Regions from separate parts of the Homo sapiens genome. Here region 2 is linked to region 1. Evidence: promoter capture Hi-C in 16 types of primary human blood cells and fetal thymus (Javierre and others, 2016). All regions are on one chromosome and are shown on one strand. The core of a region is centred on a gene start or on the middle of the fragment in contact, and the rest is flanking DNA. Distances in the headings are between cores, read along the strand shown.

Region 1 (4,332 bases), core at 1,438-3,937:
GTAAGATATGGGGAAATGGGCATTCTCATATGTATGTTGGTAAATGTAAATTAGTACAACCTTTTCAGAAGATGATCTGTCTATATCCACAAAATTAAAAAAATTAAATACCTTTTAAGCCAGCAATTTCGCCAGAGGAAGCCGTTCAACAGCAATGCTTGAACATAGTAAACAAAAATATGTGTACATTCTAATGATGCTTATCATTGTATGTAATACTAAAACACTAATAAGTGCCTAAAACTACAAATTACCTATTCACATGGGCATGATTATAGAAATTATGGCACACCCATGCTATGGAATATTGTATGTACAGATGTACATGAAAGATGCCTGAGATGTGTTCAGTGGAAATAGCAAATCACACAATGCGACATTAATTCCTTTTTTTTAAAAAAATACACAACAAACTGCTGACAATTTGAGATTTTTAGAAGAAAGGTGAAGGCACTAGGGAAGGTGAAAGAGGTCTTTCACTTCTCCCTAATATTTTATTATTAACAATTTGAAACATATAGCAAAACTGAATAAATTTTACAGTGAACATCAATATGCCCACTTCCTAGATTTTATCACTAACATTTTACTATACTTTGGTGGTATATTTCTAACACAATATACTTTCAAATATACAGATTGGGTTTTATTTTGGCATACAGACATTGCCTTTTGTATTATAAATATGGTTTTAATGAATGAATAGATATTACGACAAAATACATTTTACAAAGTATTAATCCCCTCAACTTTTCTTGTAGGGCACCAGTTTTTCATTTACATATTCAATTCTAAAAATTAAAGTGATCAACATTTAGAGTAGTAATGCACTACTGCCTTATTTCACACTTGAGATAAAATCACTCCATTTTTTCATCCCTGAAATAGCTATCTTGCTTTTTAAAATTTAGTTATTTAAAATATCCTTACCTACACATTTCTATAACATCTTTTTTCCTTACAACTGGATGTGACTATAATTGCATGGTTTTTGAGCTAGTTATTCTTTTACTTTCAAGTTTGTTGCTCTTACACGTCACAGTAAGATTATCCGTGATTTAGCATTGTGACAACATTGTAAAAGGGACTGAAAAGCAGTAATGTAGAAAATTATAGTCTTTCTCCTTCCAGTACTTTCTCTTATTTTATTTTTTGCATTTTATTTCTTTCCCCATTTCAAACGTGTTCATGCCTACAGTACTATCATTCCCCTTAATTTCATCTGTTAGAGAAAAAAAACGTATTTTAGAGCAGTTGCTGATGGCAAGCTAGTGTTTTCAAGCTAACTTCCTACTTCTGATACAGAAAAATTGAAGTTCCCAGATCAGTACTCTTTGTGGTGAGTAATAAGAAACAAGAAAATGAGAATGTCAAGCCTTCCCATAAAAATCACACCGTTAAAAGGTGATATTTACATAACTGTTACACGGCGTTTCAATCAATGTAAAGTATTAAGGAATACATCACGGAGCATCCTTTTTGAATGAAGATTAAAACATGCAAACCCGCAAATTTTTACAACCTTTATGCTAAATTCAAATCTATAAGCTCTTCAACCGACACAACGTACTATTTCCACAACTGGATTGGGAATAAAACTAAGATTAATTCCACCACAATCAAACATGTAACGAACGTATGAGGAATACTGACTCCCACATCAGTACGTTTGCCAGACTGAATTTTAAGATGTAGTCAAACACACTTCCTGAATTGGCCACTTTTGCAATCAAAGAAACAAACAAACAAAAAACACCAACAAAAACCACTGGCTGTGCAAATTTCATTGAGCATCCCTTGGTCATTTAAGAAAACTTGTCTACCTACCACTCCTGGCTTGTAATTAACAATACAAAAGCATTTTCATTTCCTTTCCCGTTCACGCAAGCTCCTGAAAACTATTTTTTTTAAAACCCTCTGCCGTTCTTTCCAAACACTTACCGCTAAAGTTGTGTTCCTCAGGTTGCTTGTCTGTTAACCAGATATCTCCATAGGGATCTTCGTTATTCCACAGCGCCAGGTAATGACTCTTCCCGCCTCTTAAAGGCCTCTCTGGTTTCTCCTGGTGCGCTCTATTTCTGAAGGGAGTTTCTAAAGAAATACTGTCTGAAGTCTCCCCACAGTGGACGTTATCTATGCACAGGATCCCCTGGCCTATCCTTTTCTCATTGTAAAGACATGAGACCCTGGAAATTCTCATTTGAATGCCAACTTTAAGAATATTTTGATATACGAGAGAGTTCAAGCTGGGGTCCAGGTAGCACTTCTCCTGGTACACCCCATCTGAGATCGTCACATCATAGCAATAAAGGGGAGGCTTGGGCACCGTGTCGCGTGGCTCATCCTCTAACAGGTACCTCTGGACGGCCAGCACAGTTACAGGCACCACCTCCGAGGGGGTGACACACTGGCGAGGTGAGTCCATAATCTGCTCAAGAACCTTTTGGATCCAGGACCTGGGCCCTTGGGAACCAGCTCTTCGGATCACCCCTCCCGGGACCCCAGCCCGATTCCTCTCAGGGTTCGGCCAATCTAGCCCTGCATGTGAGGGACCAGCCTCAGGCTGTCCTGACTCACCAGACATTGTTGGATAACTGCGTACCCGCTTCACTCCCAAAAGCTAGTTTGCCCCGTCCAAAGCGGAGAGAAATAAAACCGCGCGCTTTGGCGACGATCGCTACTCTGCCCCTGCTGACAGGCAAGACTCCGCCCCGTAGCGAGGCTGCAAAGACTTTACGCGTGCGCGCGCCAGCTCTCCCACCCCGCCCCTCGCTCCGAGCGCTTCCGACTCGAGACACTGTTACTAGGCAGTCACACGCGCGAGTTACGTAGCAGGTCGTCCGACCTTGTGCCCGCCGGGTTGCCGTCTGGGGGAGGGATGACAGGGGAAGGGGAGGGGGAATCGGTGGTTGTCATGGTTCTCAAAGAGGGAGGGGGAGAGCGCTTGTGGTCCCCTGGAAAGGAGGATGCCTAGAGGCAAGGGAAAAGAGAAAGTGGCAAGAATCAGGGTGCAGAGTCAAAGCTCAGGGATTTGGGGGTTTGGGCTTTGGGCCAGGAACAGAAAGTAATTTAGAGTTGGTTAACATATGTTAATGTTATAACATGGGTTTCCTGTAGTATGAACAAAACCAGATAATTTATGCAGAGCCTCCAGGACAGACTCTAGCACAAAAAGTCCTCAGTAAACATTAGCTGCTATTGCGATTAGCATTAGCATAATTATCTGTAGTGGCTCCCTGAGTGTAGGGTGGGTGAATTAGTGTTTAAGTGCAAATGAAAATAGAAAACTAGAACTGGCTTGTAAAGGGCTGCCTTTAGATTAGACTTCTTAAAATGCAGCTAGTTTTAATATAATACCTGGCCTAATATACATCTAGGGTAGAGATTTCAGAAACTTTGTTTAATGTTTGTTTGTTTAATGCAAGGCATATATCAGGAACGAATGTAAAGTGAAAAAGCTGATAAGAATAGTAAAAATTAAGGATAAAATATTTAATAGATGTACTTAGATCCAGTATACATAGAAGGGAGTAATTGTTCTAAGAATACTTTTTAAGATGGTTATGAGCTGATTTTGTTTATACTAATTTCCTTTGGCTCTCTATTTTATCATTCTTTATTCACTATTTATGAAGTCTCTATATGAGGTAGGCACTGTTTTAGGCCACTGGGGATAACTGTAGTCAGGGTCCTTCCCTCAAGTTTCTTCTCATTGCTTGGGCTAAAGAGCCCTGCCGTTATTAATACTTAACTAATTTACTCATTCTATACAGATTTCTTGAGTGTCTGGTCTGGGCAGGGTATAGCCTTGCTAGGGAGACCAAAAAACATAGTAAGGGGAAATAAAGTGGAGGGAACAGGAGTTAATATTTTATAAAAAGTATGATTACAGAAAGGTTCTCTAGTAAGAGACTGAACAGAACAGAGATGTGCAGGAAGTGAGGAAGTGAGCTATGTGGATATCTAGGGGAATGGCACTTGAATCAGAGAAAACAAGAAGAATAAATTCCATGAGACAGAAGCATACTTGATATTTTCAAGGAAATGCATAAGCCAATCAGCCGCAGTGGAGGGGCGAGGGGGAGAGTGGTAGGAGGTGAGGTCAGAGAGGTAGCAGGGTTTCTTCTATTATGAGCAAAGGAGTGACATGACACTTAGTCTTGAACCCCACTTCCTTCATGATGCCTCCCCTCACCAATTCAGTCTAGGATAATCTTTCTCTTCTCTGTATCACCTTGTATCACTCATTTGATACTTATCATCTAATACTTGCAGTTAAAAAAAAAAAACTTAATGTATGCGTAACTCAGAGTTTCTCAACATGGGCACTCT
Region 2 (4,130 bases), core at 976-3,475, 110 kb after region 1:
TGTGTTGTCCAGGCTGGTCTCGAACTATTGAGCTCAAGTAATCCACCCTCCTCCGCCTCCCAAAGCGCTGGAATTACAGGCATGAGCCAGCCACTGTGCTCAGCCCAAGATTCTTTCTCAATTAAAATTATTTTCCTTTTAACCTTTCTCACCAAAAATACCTCTTTATATTTACACATTTCTTTACATTGCTCTTATTTACTGCTTCCTTTTACCCTGTTTCAGAAATCGCCTTTAAGTGTTCTTTGAATTAGACAAAAATTATTTTTCCTTAAATATAAACTTTTTTTAGAAAAATGTTTTCCTATAACAAAATCTTTAAAGATAAATTGGAAATAACCCAGACATTTAATGGATATCTATTATTTAATTTTATATGACTTTTGATTCTAACTTATATAGTACTTTTATTTACAACCATTTCTTCCATTGCCCTAATTAATTTTTTAAATAGCTTACCTAGATTACTTGTGAAAACTGTGATAGTCATCATTTAAAATTACTTCCCTGTTAACCATTTTTATAGCCTGTGAATTTCAGGTGTTTACCTAAGTAAGAACCTTATGGTTAAATAAATGTTCTTTTTTTTGGCCAACAACCCAGGATTTAGCTGTTTTTGTTAAATGCACAATATTAAATGCCTTATTTATCAAAAAATTACACAACCAAAGGTAATTCTTTTGGGAGTTGCAAGCATTATAACCCTCATGCCAAATTTTGACACCTTATAATACCTAGCAGAGATAAATATTAAACCGCTTGACCAATAAATTTAAACAAAATGTATGTTGACGATTCTGAAGACATTTCTAATTTTATTTTACTAATAATTTTAAAACCAGCTTATTTATTAAGGGTTTACTTAACTCGTGAACTTGAATACACGCTCGAGCTTAAAGTTTCTATTTTTATGATAAAGTATTTTATTTAAGCACTTTATTTTCCTTCAAGCCAATCAGTTAGAGCTCTTTTATATACTTTTGATAGTGAAACGTTATATACTTGACACATAAATTCATAGATGTATTAGACACACAGATAGTAGATCTTATAGATTCATAAGACCTCTTTTTTCCCTATTTTAGACTTCCGATTTCTTGATAACCTGTTTCATTACCCTAGGCAAGTGTCAGCTACATAGCCCTAAAATTGTATATCAAAGGAACAACTCAGGTGAAAATCAGATAGGGAAATTTACATCTCAAAGTGGCCAGGAGAGAGAGATAGAGACAGAGAGAGAGAGATTAAGATAGAGACAGAGAGGGATTAAGAGAGAGAGAGAGAGAGAGTCTGGTATGAGAGAGGGTGATTAAAAATGCATGCCATGTCAAACATAAAGTTATAGAAATCTATCACAGGATTTTATAAGGAGGTCAATTTTATTCAGACAGGTAGTTTTAAATTTAGTAGCTATCTTTTAACTGAATTTCTGAGCTCTGGGCAGAGCCTACACTGAATCCTGTGTCTCCAAAAAGAAAAAAATGTCATGGGACTTGGCCACATAATACTTTTACAATGCACTTAGTTACAAACATATTTCTCTAAGTATCTAAACCACACCCTTTTTTATCTTACACACTCGAGTAGTGTTTGTTCTAATAGCTATTTCAGTTAAAAAAAAATCAGGTAACACAATACACAAGTAAGCAGTTTAAGATCTGAGAGGAACTTGTCTCTACACTCTTGGGGTTCCGTAAGGAGAAACAGAAGTTTCTCACCAAAAAGGGAGCCTGGTGCCTTCTCTGTTTTCTATAAGGAATCTCGGTCTGTTAGAAATTATTTTAGGTCTCTTATGCAGCAGAGGGTGGCAAGAGAAAGGAGAAACAGGCAAAAGTAAATGGAGAAAACTAAATTCAGTTGATGGAAAAGAAAGAAATCTTGTTCTCAGAAATCAAGATCCTGTGAGAGAAAAAAAAAACCATAAAGACCTTACACATACACACACACACACACACACACACACCCCTTGGATATTAGCTTTTAATAAAGCTGACTTTTAACCATTGAGCTCTGAAAAAAATCCTTTTAAATCTCACCATATTTTAGCTGGGACAAATTGCTATTTCAAAAGTAACACAAATATTAAACTGGAAGGGACTTGATTTAGCAATAAAACCCAGGCTATTGTGGTGAACAAAAAAGGGGGCAGAACCTTAGCTACTGAACTACAGGGTGGATGACAACCATTGCTCTTTCATTTTGGCTTGGCTGGCAAAAAGTGCCAAGCTATGTAAATAAAACCCCTCAGGGTAGTCAAAAGTTTTTTTTTTTTCCTTTTTCTTGTCATTTTATCTTTTTCCTTTTTTTTTTTTTTCCAGTTACAGGAATTTAGCCAATTCAGAGTCCTTGTTCCCCATAATTTTGAACTTTAGATTTGATCAAGTCAGGTAGAATTGGTCAAAACCCAATGGGAGAAAGACTGAAACAGTAACAAAAACAGAAACAAACAAATAAGCAAAAAAAAAAAAAAAAAAAAAGCCAGTTAAGCAAAACAAACAGCTACACATTTTATATAATTACTCAGCACTCTAATGGTAAGGAGAAATTAAGACCAGCCGGTTGTTAATCTTAACTTTAGTCATTAAAAAGAATTTCCAAGACAAAACCCCAATTTAGATACTTACCTAGGAACTGGGGCCCAGGCTAAAGATTTCTTTGTACCATCCTAGAAGAAGGAAAATACTCAAACTTGCCTTCCCTGTTGGAAGTGAGTAAAACTCTAGAAAAGGAGATGTACAGCAAAATAAACCTAGATCTCAGCCAAATTTTGGGATATCAGGGATTCTCTGGAGTGGGGAGCTCCCAGGCCTCAGCAAATCATCCTATTGGTTTGAGCAATAAAGACAGCTCAAGCTGTCTAGAGGTCAAGCCCAAGCTGTCAGGTCAGAAGCACTTCCACTCAGAATCCCTCCCTTTGTGGTTACCAATTTGTAAACCGTAAAGTATCTGAGACAGATCTTAATCAATTTAGAAGTTTATTTTGCCAAGGTTAAGGACATGCACCTGGGAGACAGGTCTGTGCCTTTCCCCAAAGATGATTCTCAGGGCTTCAGTGTTTAAAGGGGAAAAGCAGGCTGGAGGGGAAAAAGGGAGAGTACGGTCACATTACTGAATCCACATGCTGCAAGAGAAAAGGAGCAAGTAAGGAAGGAGTCAATTATGTTCTGGTCTCATGCTCAGTAAATTGGCATTTTACATAAAATAAGGTGAACACAGAGTAGCTACCTGTGGAGATATTTAACTTTTTATTTGTAGCTATCTGCTTAGGAACAAAAGGAAAGGCGGCTTCTTGCATGACTCAGCTTTTAGCTTAATTCTTTTCTTTTGGCACAGTGAAATTAGGGTCCCAAGTTTTCATTTTCCTTTGACAGTATTCTGAGGCAGAGGTTCTACCAACCCTTTTTCTCCTTTACTTCCTGTTAGACTGACTAGGACAACAAAGGGAGACAGGAAGTCTGAAGGAGGGAGAACAAAGTTGCTTCTTCTTCTCTCTGCTTCCTGTTTCTTTTTGTCACCCTCACAAAAGACATCTACCTGGGCAGGGCCATGTGGATTTAGTAGGAACAGGAGGGCCAATTTCATAGTTTCTCTCTAAATATGAAGAACTATTGTTATTATGGTGGCTTTCACTTCAGAAGGACTCCTCCTTCAAGAACCTGAGACTTCAGTACCAGTTAAGCAACTCCCCTGATTTAAATGTAAATGTTCCAATTCGGTAGGGGCTCTTTCTCCAAGCTGTTTCAGTGCCATCTCTAATTGGGCAGCCCATTTTATCAGAGGTCTGGGTCCAAGTCTTACCCAAATATCCTAATTGCTTTCCCAGGCCTTGGATTGGTAGTTATTTCTGGCACTCTGAACACCTATTTTAACCAATTTCCTGTTGTAAATTCCATTTAAATATCTTCTGTGGACTTGGTTTTTTAATATTTTCCTTTTTCAGTAATTCCATTGTAATGCACCTATGTGTGATTTCTTTACATGCATTCTGCTTGGGATTTGTAGCACGACTTGATGTATGGCTTTATATCTTTTATTATTTTTACAATATTCTTTGCTATTTTCGTGTTCAATATTTATTTTATCCATTCTTCGGCTTCTCTCCTTCTGGAACTGCAATTACACATCTCATA

Evidence for each region. Contacts are between HindIII fragments. The CHiCAGO score rates a contact against its expected background, and 5 or more counts as called.
Region 2: a contact is called between a fragment that was not itself captured here and the fragment with the promoter of RADX in region 1, in 1 of 17 cell types (naive CD4 T cells). The highest score is 5.1, in naive CD4 T cells.

The regions. Positions count from the first base shown.
Region 1 is chrX:106,610,333-106,614,664 of GRCh38, reverse strand. It overlaps RADX (RPA1 related single stranded DNA binding protein, X-linked), which reads right to left and starts at 2,687. Exons shown (of 14, transcript NM_018015.6): 1 at 1,942-2,687. The coding sequence starts at 2,584. RefSeq lists enhancers at 2,123-2,462, 2,503-2,692. The HindIII fragment of the contact is 18,100 bases long and covers 1-4,332 here.
Region 2 is chrX:106,501,742-106,505,871 of GRCh38, reverse strand. No RefSeq gene overlaps it. Among named protein-coding and RNA genes, the nearest start is that of RADX, 110 kb to the left of the region's middle. The HindIII fragment of the contact is 6,045 bases long and covers 1-4,130 here.